Linked DNA regions of Homo sapiens: all the other regions are linked to region 3. Evidence: promoter capture Hi-C in 16 types of primary human blood cells and fetal thymus (Javierre and others, 2016). All regions are on one chromosome and are shown on one strand. Each heading gives the region's core, a stretch centred on a gene start or on the middle of the fragment in contact. The rest is flanking DNA. Distances are from core to core; before and after follow the strand shown. Region 1 overlaps EPB41 (erythrocyte membrane protein band 4.1). Region 2 overlaps EPB41 (erythrocyte membrane protein band 4.1). Region 3 holds the start of OPRD1 (opioid receptor delta 1). Region 4 overlaps EPB41 (erythrocyte membrane protein band 4.1).

Evidence for each region. The method cuts DNA at HindIII sites, captures the fragments that hold promoters and counts their contacts. A CHiCAGO score of 5 or more calls a contact.
Region 1: a fragment that was not itself captured here is called in contact with the fragment with the promoter of OPRD1 in region 3 in 4 of 17 cell types (total B cells, M0 macrophages, M2 macrophages and 1 more); the score reaches 6.0 in total B cells.
Region 2: a fragment that was not itself captured here is called in contact with the fragment with the promoter of OPRD1 in region 3 in 8 of 17 cell types (megakaryocytes, M1 macrophages, naive CD8 T cells and 5 more); the score reaches 6.6 in megakaryocytes.
Region 4: a fragment that was not itself captured here is called in contact with the fragment with the promoter of OPRD1 in region 3 in 1 of 17 cell types (megakaryocytes); the score reaches 5.1 in megakaryocytes.

What each region holds. Positions count from the first base shown.
Region 1 is chr1:29,044,239-29,046,938 of GRCh38, forward strand. All of the region lies in intron 11 of EPB41 (erythrocyte membrane protein band 4.1), which reads left to right. Among named protein-coding and RNA genes, the nearest start is that of TMEM200B, 78 kb to the right of the region's middle. The HindIII fragment of the contact is 2,216 bases long and covers 191-2,406 here.
Region 2 is chr1:29,060,947-29,063,646 of GRCh38, forward strand. All of the region lies in intron 15 of EPB41 (erythrocyte membrane protein band 4.1), which reads left to right. Among named protein-coding and RNA genes, the nearest start is that of TMEM200B, 62 kb to the right of the region's middle. The HindIII fragment of the contact is 3,472 bases long and covers 1-2,700 here.
Region 3 is chr1:28,810,801-28,813,500 of GRCh38, forward strand. It overlaps OPRD1 (opioid receptor delta 1), which reads left to right and starts at 1,370. Exons shown (of 3, transcript NM_000911.4): 1 at 1,370-1,810. The coding sequence starts at 1,584. The HindIII fragment of the contact is 20,164 bases long and covers 1-2,700 here.
Region 4 is chr1:29,021,614-29,024,313 of GRCh38, forward strand. All of the region lies in intron 7 of EPB41 (erythrocyte membrane protein band 4.1), which reads left to right. Among named protein-coding and RNA genes, the nearest start is that of TMEM200B, 100 kb to the right of the region's middle. The HindIII fragment of the contact is 1,878 bases long and covers 423-2,300 here.

The DNA of each region.
Region 1 (2,700 bases), core at 49-2,548, 230 kb after region 3:
CTCACAGACAGTAAGTTGCAAACTATGACAAAAATCCAGGTCTGTCTGATAGCATGTTCCATGGCTTTCCTTGCTAAATGGAGTTTCATGGTTATATAGATACTATGCCTGATGTATTGTCTTTTCCTGATAGCAAAGATAACCAAAGAGTCAAGTGTTAATGAGCTTTGGTACCTTGAACAAGTTAGAAAGCTTTACAGAAATCACATCTTGACTGCCTTATTACATTTATATTCTGAATTTTTTTTTAAGATGTATGGTCTTAACTTTTCATGGTAATTACCACAGTTCTTGCTACAGTGTATTTAATAAATAAATATTGGCTGGATGTGGTGGCTCACACCTGTAATCCCAGCACTTTGGGAGGCTGAGGCGGGCGGATCATTTGAGGTCAGGAGTTCGAGACCAACCAGGCTGACATGTTGAAACCCTGTCTCTACTAAAAATACAAAAATATTAGCCAGTTAGCTGGGCATGGTGGCACATGCCTGAATTCCCAGCTACTCAGGACGCTGAGGCAGGAGAATCGCTTGACCCCAGGAGGCAGAAGTTGCAGTGAGCTGAGATCGCGCCTGCACTCCAGCCTGGATGACAGAGTGAGACTCCGTCTCAAAAATAACAATAAAATAAAATAAAATACCATTCTTTCCCTACTGCATTCCAGTGTCACCTTTGTTATAAATCAGGTGACCATAAATTTGGGAGTTCATTTCTGGTCTCTCTAATCTCTTGTATTGATCTTTGTGTACCCTTGTGTCAATACCACACTATCTTAATTATTCTAGCTTTTATAAGTGTTTAAATTCTCTAACAATATTCTCTAAGATTATCTTGGCTATTTTTAGCCCTTAGCGTTATCTTATATATTGTAGAATCAGATTTTCTATTTCCACTAAAAAAGTCTTAATACTTTTATTGGGATTTAGTTGATTATATGGATCAGTTTGGAGATAATTGGTATTATAATATTGAGTCTTCTGATTCACAAACATGCTATAACCCTCCTTTTGTTTGGGTTTCCTTTAATTTCTCTCAGTAATGTTTTGTGATTTTTGGTGTAGGTAACTTGTGCATCTTTCATTAGATTTATTCTTACAGATTTGATGTCATTTGCTATTTTATATTAATATTATTAGATAGGGTCTCACTCTGTCATCCAGGCTGGAGTGCGATGGAGCGATCACAAGTCACTGCAGCCTCAGTCTCCCAGGCCCAGGTGATCCTCCCACCTCAGCCTCACAAGTAGCTAGGACTACAGGTGCATGCCACCATGCCCAGCTAATTTTTTTTTTTTTTTTTAGAGACAGGGTCTTGCCATGTTGCCCAGGCTGGTCTCAAATTCCCAGGCTCAGGCAATCCTCCCACCTTGGCTCCCCAAAGTGCTAGGATTACAAGAGTGAGCCACCACACCCAGCCATCGTTTGCTATCTTAAATGGTATCTTTTGGTTTTTGGCTGGTTGCAGTGCCTCATGCCTATAATCCCAGTACTTTGGGAGGCCAAGGTGGGAGGATCGCTTGAGTCTGAGAGTTCAAGACCAGCCTGGGCAACATGGCAAGACCCTGTCTCTAAAAAAAAAAAAAAAAAAATTAGCTGAGCATGGTAGTGCACACCTGTGGTCCCAACTACATGGAAGGCTGAGGCAGGAGGATCACTTCAGCCTAGGAGGTTAAGGCTGCAGTGAGCTGTGCTTGTGCCACTGCACTGCAGCCTGGGCAACAGAGTGAGACCCTGTCTCTAAAATAAAATAAAATAAAACAAAATAAAATAAATGGTATCCTAAATTTTTTATTTTTTGTTCAATTGTTTTGGTACATAGAAATACAATTAATTTTTCTAGTTTGACCTTATACTCAGTAATCTTACTAAAAAAATTTTTTTTTAATTTAATTTTATTTTTTTTTTGAGACAGAGTCTCACTCTGTCACTCAGACTGGAGTGCAGTGGCACTATCTCGGCTCACTGCAACCTCTGCCTCCTGGGTTCAAGTGACTCTCCTGCCTCAGCCTCCTGAGTAGCTGGGATTACAGGTGCACGCCACCACCATGCCCGGCTAATTTTTTGTATTTTTAGTAGAGACGAGGTTTCACCCTGTTGGTCAGGCTGTTCTCGAACTCCTGACCTCGTGATCCACCCACCTCGGCCTCCCAAAGTGCTGGGATTACAAGCGTGAGCCACCACACCCAGCCCTAAAAAATTTATTATTAATTTTAATGGTTTATCTGTGGATTATTTGGGGTATACATTATTGTGTACTCAACATCAACTGAAAATAATGATTGTTGTATGTCTTCCTTTCCATCTCGCATTTTTAATTTCTTTAATTGCTTTGTTGCTGGCTAGAACGTCCAATGTAATGCTGAATACAAGCATTAATAACTATCATCTTTCCCAATTTTAGGGCAAAAGCTTCAGTATTTCATCAAGCTTCCTTATATGGTATTTTCTTTATCATATAAGGAAGTTGTCATTCTAGTTTCCTACACATTTTAATTGTGAATTAGTGTTACTTTTATCAAATGCTTTTTACTTCATCAGTTGATATAATAAAATGATTTTTCTCCTTTTTATGTTAATGTGGTATATTATTTTTACTTTCAATTTTTAAACGACCTAAGAATTTTTGGAGTAAGTTCGAATTGGTCGTAATACTCTTTTCTTTTTTATTGTTTTAGGATTTCTACAACTATTTTCATAAGAG
Region 2 (2,700 bases), core at 41-2,540, 250 kb after region 3:
AGGGGCGGGAAGTAAGATATAAGAAGGAAAGAGGGGAGCCTAGCATTTAATAAGTAGTTACTATAAGATGGTTTAATCATAAAAACAGGCCTGTGGGTATGGGATTGTTATTTTAAAGATGACAAAATTGAACCTCAAAGAGATTAAGTAATTTCCCTGTAGTCCCAGAACTGGAAAGCCAAGATGTGAGTTAGGATCTGTCCAACTCTATTAAACTACACTGTTTTGCACTCTGAAATAGCAACATGCTGTCTGCTATAGGAGTTGTAAGATTATTTTCCCATTATATTCAACATTGGTCATATATATATAAAATTTTTATTTTATTTTATTTTATTTTTGAGACAGAGTCTCGCTCTGTCGGCCAGGCTAGAGTGTAGTGGCGTGATCTCAGCTTACTGCAAGCTCCGCTTCCCGGGTTCACGCCATTCTGCTGCCTCAGCTTCCCAAGTAGCTGGGACTACAGGCGCCCGCCACCTGTCTGGCTAATTTTTTTGTATTTTTAGTAGAGACGGGGTTTCACTGTGTTAGCCAGGATGGTCTGGATCTCCTGACCTCGTGATTCGCCCACCTTGGCCTCCCAAAGTGCTGGGGTTACAGGCGTGAGCCACTGCGCCTGGCCTTTGTTTTTTTTTTTTTTTTTTTTTTTTTTGAGGCGGGTCTCACAGTGTTACCCAGGCTGGAGTGCAGTGGCTCAATCACTGCTTACTGCACTCTCAGCCTCCTGGGCTCAAGCAATCCTCCCATCTCAATCTCCTGAATAGCTGGGGCTATGGGTGCATGCCACAATGCCCAGCTAATTTTTAAATTTTTGGTAGAGACAGGATCTCAGTATGTTGCCCAGGCTGGTCTTAAACTCCTGGACTCAAGTGATCCTTCTGCCTTAGCCTCCCAAAGTACCGGGGTTACAGGCATGAGCCACTGGACCCAACCTAAACTTTAAAAACTAGATAGACCTCTGGCTTAATATATAGCCTCTAATAATTATTTAAACCTCATCTTATTCCTTGTCAATACCTGTATTTTGAGTACTTGTTATGTATAAAGTCTCTGAGAAAAAAATATGCCCAGCCTTCATTAAACATGTATTGCGTGGTGGGTGAAATACCAAGTGCTTTACATATCTTTGTCTCATTTAACATGAAGTTTTTCGAGGCTGGACCCTCAGATATTTCAAACTTGGCAACTGGATCTCTTTGTTTTAGCCCATATCTGAAACCAGACCTGAGTAGTTCCATCTTCAGAGACTAGGAAGAATAGTGAAGGTCAGTTGATTTCCTTTATTTGGCAGTGTAACATCTTGAAATTCTAAACATGCATATTTCCTGACTAGTTCGTCTTCAGTGCTTCCTCTTAACTGGAACCTGCAGTACCAATCATATATTTGTCATTTGTTCCATGAGGTGTGTTATGGCTTCTGAGACTCACAAAGTCCCTGTGTGTGATGTGTTTTTCCCTCAGCATTTCATTGACAGCCCTGAGAGGGGATTTCTAAATAAGTGTGTTTGGAAATTAAAACCACTAACTGCCTTTTGAGAACATTTTATATTTAATGAAGTGTTTGGTTTGATTGCTGCTAAAATTATGAAGTGATAGGCATCAAAAAGTGTCTAACCTGAACACAGCCAAAGTAATTTGGCCATCATTCTTTAGAAGTTTTTTCCCCTGTAAGGAAGTTCTCTCAAGTTATCTGTCACTCCAGCAGGTTTTTTTTTTTTTAAGCATCCCTCCTCCCCCTTCTCCTACCCCGCCCCCACTAATGCTTTGTTCTGGCACAAATAAGGTCGAGTTCATTTTTAGATCTACCGCCTCCTCCTCCATCTCCCAGAGAGAACCTGTAGCAAGTTGTCTATGACAAATTCTATTTGGAACAGGTCCCTTTGAGATCTTAATTTTACTCTGTGCCCCCACAGGTTTTCAACAAAGCCAGCTAAGAAGGATGGAGAAAGCTCCCTCAGAAGCTACTGGTTTTACCAAAACATTTATTTTCCCAGGTTCCAAGCCAATCCGAAGCTAGGCAAGAAGAGTAGCAAATTACAAGTCTCTTACATTAAGAGGTTAACTAAGAGAGTTATCATTTTACATAGCATCTCTTGCTTATTTTTGTTTTGCTCTATTCACACCTTTAACCCTCCCAAATGTATTAGGTTGTTCTTGGCCCAAACAGATTTTAATTTCCAGTGAGGAGCTGGGTCACAGGACCTTACATGCCTGGTGGGTCTGGTTGCTCAGTCCAATACTGGGTCTTTGAATGGGCTTGTTCATGCTTTTCTTTAGCTACTAGACATGCTTTTCTTGCTTTCAGCCAGAAGAAAAGTGCAAACTGTTGTTTCCCCCATAGTGAAGTCCATATTCATAAAATATATTCACATTTCATCCCAGCAAGCAAAACATGCTCTTCTGGGATAGCTATAGGATTGCCCTTTTGGAGTTAGCTTTCTGTTTGATCTCAAAGCAGGTATACATGGTTCAGTCTTGCAAAAATAAAAAGAATAGACTAATGAATTTTCTGAATGAATATCTACAGAATCAAAATCGTCTCACTGATTATTCTTCTTATGCTGTTTTCCCTTTGACATTGCTTTTGAAAAAGTTTTATTTAGTTAAAACCTGTATTACCCTCAGAAAAAACTTTTAAGCAAAATTTTATTTAAATGAATTATAATTTTTTACCCCAATACAGCTGTTTCCTACAGAGCC
Region 3 (2,700 bases), core at 120-2,619:
GGTGAGATGAGGGAGAGCTCCTTGTCCAGCCACACACAGATCCAAGAGCATTGCCCCAGAGCCTAGAGCTCAGAACCCCTAATATTGTTCCACTCCAGTTCCCTTTGGGATCTTTATTATCCAAAAAGTATTTCTTGAGCACCTGCTGTGACCCCAGCCCTCTCCTGGATGCAGGGGTCAATCAGACCTGGTCCCTTTAAGGAGGGAGACCAGTTCGGATAGAAATAATTACTATATGGGATAATTTAGTGCTGAGCACTAAATCTGTAACATGGGGACAATAATAATAGAAGCTACACCAAAGTGTTGGTGCATGGATAAAGTGCTTATCACAGTGCCTGGAGCAAAGTAATGCTTGGTAGAATGTTCTGGAAAGGCTAGGCACCCCAAGAAGAAGGATGGCTCTAATCTGGAATGGTTAGGTCTTGGAAGGGGTGTGGCAAGGATGACTTAGCCAAGTGCCCCCCTTCTATCTGCTCGCACTGCAGCCAGAGTGCTCCTTAAGGTGGTCTTCAAGAGCCTGCCCACCACCTCATCGCCCCCTCACTTCCTGCCTTCTCCTCTTCCTGGCTTCCTTTCAGTCCCTCTGCTTCCTTTATCCGGAATCCTCTTCCCTTGTTACTTCCTTAAGTTAGTTCTTCCCCAAACTTCACACCTCACCTCAAGTGTCGTTTCCCCAGGGAAGCTGTCCTGACCCCTGGGTTTTGTAGACCCTGCCACTTTCTCAATTCGTACCTATATCTTAATGTCATTTTAGGGTTGCTCGCTCTCTCTCCTGCACTGGGCTGTAAGCCCCAGGAAGCAGAGGCTGCATCTGGTTTTGTGTACTAGAGGGTCCCCCCAAATACCCGGCTCTTCTATTAGGCACCCTCAGAATTTTTGTTGAGCGAATGAATGGGGTGCAAGAAAGGCACGGATAATATAGGTTATTTACGGAGCATGTAACTGTCCGCAGGGCACTGCTCTAAGCTCTTTGTTCGAATCATTTTATTCAATCTCCCCAACCACCCTCTGAGGGAGGTGGTACGATTTTCCTCATCTCACAGACAAAGAGAATGAAGCTGAGGGAGGTTAAGTGACTTACACAAGGTCACTCCGCCTGTTAGTGCAGGGGCGGGAGGCGGGATCCACACCCAGGTCCCTCTGACACCAAAGTGGCAAGGGGGTGGGAGGGGAGTCCAGGTTGGGACGGGGTCGCACTCGAGCCGGCGGAGCATCCCTAGGGAGGGGGCGGGAGGCCTCCCCTGCCCAGCTCCGAGCCGGTGGTGCAGCGTCCGCCCCCGGTCGCGGGCGCAGACTGGCGGCCGCCTCCGGGCCACGTGGTGCGCGCGGCGGGCGCGTCCGAGGAGCCTGCGGCTGCTCCTGGCTCACAGCGCTCCGGGCGAGGAGAGCGGGCGGACGCCGGGGGCTGGGCCGGTGCGGGCGGCGAGGCAGGCGGACGAGGCGCAGAGACAGCGGGGCGGCCGGGGCGCGGCAGCCGGCGGCGTCGGGGCCGCGGCCTCTGCCTTGCCGCTCCCCTCGCGTCGGATCCCCGCGCCCAGGGCGCACGGTGGAGAGGGACGCGGCGGAGCCGGCCGGCAGCCATGGAACCGGCCCCCTCCGCCGGCGCCGAGCTGCAGCCCCCGCTCTTCGCCAACGCCTCGGACGCCTACCCTAGCGCCTGCCCCAGCGCTGGCGCCAATGCGTCGGGGCCGCCAGGCGCGCGGAGCGCCTCGTCCCTCGCCCTGGCAATCGCCATCACCGCGCTCTACTCGGCCGTGTGCGCCGTGGGGCTGCTGGGCAACGTGCTTGTCATGTTCGGCATCGTCCGGTGAGTCCGCTGCGGGCCGGCGCCGCAGGGCTGGAGCCCGGGGTGAGGGTGGGGATCACGAACTTGAGACCCCAAGCCCGTTCCCTGGACTCCCCGCGCCTCCGCATTTCCTGCAGGGGCACCTGGGGCCCAGCGAGAGGCGAGGCCACTTACATCGAGGGGAACACAGGAATGTGTGTCATCGTGTGTATGTGTGTGTGTGGTGCGGGGGGGGGAGTGCGCCGCGGTTGACTAAATTACATTTGATCATCTGTTGGCATCCCCTTGCTTCTTTGTGGGACAGTTTGGCGTCAGTTTGTGTGTCTGTCACAGTTTGTGAGTGGATGGTTGTGACAGTACAACTGTATGTTTGGACGTCGGAAACATGCCCATGGGGTGGGCAGAGCTGCTCTGAGGTGCCGCGGGCCTTTGGGGAGACCGGTGTGAGGGCACCGTGCAGGCAGGGCGGACAGGAGGGTGCTGGGTGTCAGCACCTCGCCGTGGGGCCCTTACCAAGTCATATTTGGTGCTCATCTGTTGGTGTGAGCTTGTCCCTAACGGTCAGTTTGTGATTCTGTCTGAATGTAACAATGTGACTGTTGTTTCTTGTCAAGCTCTTGAAACCCCGAGGGCGGCAGAGCATCCGGAGTGGCCGTCGTCCCTGTGTTTGTGCAGCTGTGTGTGCCTTTGCCAGTGATTCCTGGATAACATGGGCGACAGCTGTGGGCCGCCAACCGGTTCTCTGTTCCCTTCGCCAGTGCCCATCTGGTCAGGAATTCTGAATAGGATTCAGAGAAGACTCACGCCCTCCTCACAAATGCCCTCTCCCATTTTCTCTTTGCCTCCTCTAACAGTCTTTTCTTCTGCCAGAGGCAGCAGAGGTTGGTCTGGGCGGGAGTGGATTTTGAGTT
Region 4 (2,700 bases), core at 112-2,611, 210 kb after region 3:
GTTCTGTCGCCCAGGCTGGAGTGCAGTGGGGTGATCTCCGCTCACTGCAAGCTCCGTCTCCCGGGTTCACATCATTCTCCTGCCTCGGCCTCCTGAGTATCTGGGACTACAAGCGCCAGCCACCACGCCTAGCTAATTTTTTGTATATTTAGTAGAGACAAGGTTTCACCGTGTTAGCCAGGATGGTCTCAATCTCCTGACCTCGTGATCCGCCCGCCTGGGCCTCCCAAAGTGCTGGGATTACAGGCATGAGCCATCGCGCCCGGTGGCCATCTTTTCTATAAAACACCATGTTTTCTTGAAAAAATGACAAACTATGATTATTCGGACTCGGTTATTTGACACACATTTTCTCAAAAATGAAATGAGCTAGTACTTTTAGGAAAGCAACTGACAGTATTTGTTGCTAATGACAAAATTCAAGCTTTCTGGTAAAAATTGGAATTTTGGAAAACTTTTATATATCCCCATGATCTTGACAGCTTTTAAAGACTTTTCTGCTAAGGTCAGTGGTTATTTTAATGAATGTGTTTTTTTATACACATATTATATCAAGGTTTGGAAGATTTTCATAACTTGGTGAACAAGTATTTTTCAGATTAGAAATGCACAATGTTAAAAAAATCATGCACAGGTAAAAGATCCATTCAAAATGCAAGATAGACCAATGGATTTTAATGTAACAGTACAAAAAGTTCATTGATAAGTTTCTACATTTCACATTGAAAATTATCTTTAAGAAACTGCCATTGATATAATAAAAAAAAAAAAAAAAAAAGAAACTGCCATTGATAAGTTTTAGTGTAATACCAGAAAAGAATATTTTAGGCCAGGCGCAGTGGCTCATGCCTGTAATCCCAGCACTTTGGGAGGCCGAGGCAGGCGGATCACAAGGTCAGGAGTTTGAGACCAGCCTGGCCAATATGGTGAAACCCTGTCTCTACTAAAAATACAAAAATTAGCCAGGCATGGTGGTGGGCACCTGTAATCCCAGCTACTTGGGAGGCTGAGGCAGGAGAATCACTTTAACCTGGGAGGCGGTGGTTGCAGTGAGCCAAGATCGTGCCATTGCACTACAGCCTGGGCGACAAGAGCAAGACTCCATCTCAAAAAAAAAGAAAAAAGAGTGTTTTAAATTCATAGTCACCCCTTTTCAAACTACATGTCTGTGTGAGATCAGATTTCTTCACATACTGCCAAATCAATATATTGCAACAGATTGAATGCAGAAGCAGTTGGGAGAATTCAGCTGTCTTCTATGCCAGACATTGAAGAGATTTGTAAATATGTAAAGCAAAGTTACCTTTTCATCACTGTTTCAGAAAATATTGGTATTTTTCAGAAATTATGTTATTTATGTTAAAAAGTAATGGGATTACCATTATTTTATTTTATTTTGAAATGGAGTTTCACTCTTGTCGCCCAGGCTGGAGTGCAATAGTGTGATCTCGGCTCACTGCAATCTCCGCCTGCTTGGTTCAAGTGATTCTCGTGCCTCAGCCTCCCGAGTAGCTAGGATTACAAGTGCCTGCCACCACACTTGGCTAACTTTTGTATTTTTAGCAGAGACAGGGTTTCACCATGTTGGCCAGGCTGGTCCTGAACTCCTGACCTCAGGTGATCTGCCTGCCTTGGCCTGCTAAGGTGCTGGGATTACAGACGTAAGCCACCGTGCTTGGCTGGATTACTGTTACTTTTTAGAAATTTAATAAACATTTTAAATTTTCCTTAGTTAAAACAATTTTAATATAGTGAATACAAATAGCTATAAGCCACATAAAGAAAAGCTCTTGACCGGGCACAGTGGCTCATGCCTGTAATCCCAGCACTTTGGGGGGCCAAGGCAGCCAGATCACCTGAGGTCGGGAGTTCAAGACCAGCCTGACCAACATGGAGAAACCCCATCTCTACTAAAAATACAAAATCAGCCGGGCATGGTAGCACATGCCTGTAATCCCAGCTCCTCAGGAGGCTGAGGCAGGAGAATCGCTTGAACTCGGGAGGCAGAGGTTGCAGTGAACCGAGATCATGCCATTGTACTCCAGCCTGGGCAACAAAAGCAAAACTCCGTCTCAAAAAAAAGAAAAAAGAAAGAAAAGCTCTTTAGGGTCCTCAATAATTTTTACAATAATTGTTAAGAGAATAAAGAGGTCCTGAGATCAAAAAAGTTTGAGAACCACTGAGTTGGGGCAATAGGGCACCATAGTTAAAATCTTGGGCTCTGGAGTTAGCCTTTCTTTAAATTCAGACTCCATTCCTTGTTAACTGTGTGCCTCTTGGTAAGTTACTTAAGCTCTCTAAGCTTCAGTTTTTTCATCTGAAAAATAAGGGCAATAATGTGAATTTTCTAATTGTTAAATCAGAAAATTTATATAAAGTGATTAGTACAATGACAGTATATAGTGAGAGTTCAAATATCTGCTATGATAATAATAATTCTTGGCTGGGCACGGTGGCTCACACCTGTAATCCCAGCATTTTGGGAGGCCAAGGCAGGTGGATCACGAGGTCAAGAGATTGAGACCATCCTAGCCAACATGGTGAAACCCCATCTCTACTGAAAATACAAAAATTAGCTGGGCATGGTGGCGCGCACCTGTAGTCCCAACTACTCTGGAGGCTGAGGCAGGAGAATTGCTTGAACCCAGGAGGCGGAGGTTGCAGTGAGCCGAGATCATGCCACTGCACTCTAGCCTGGGT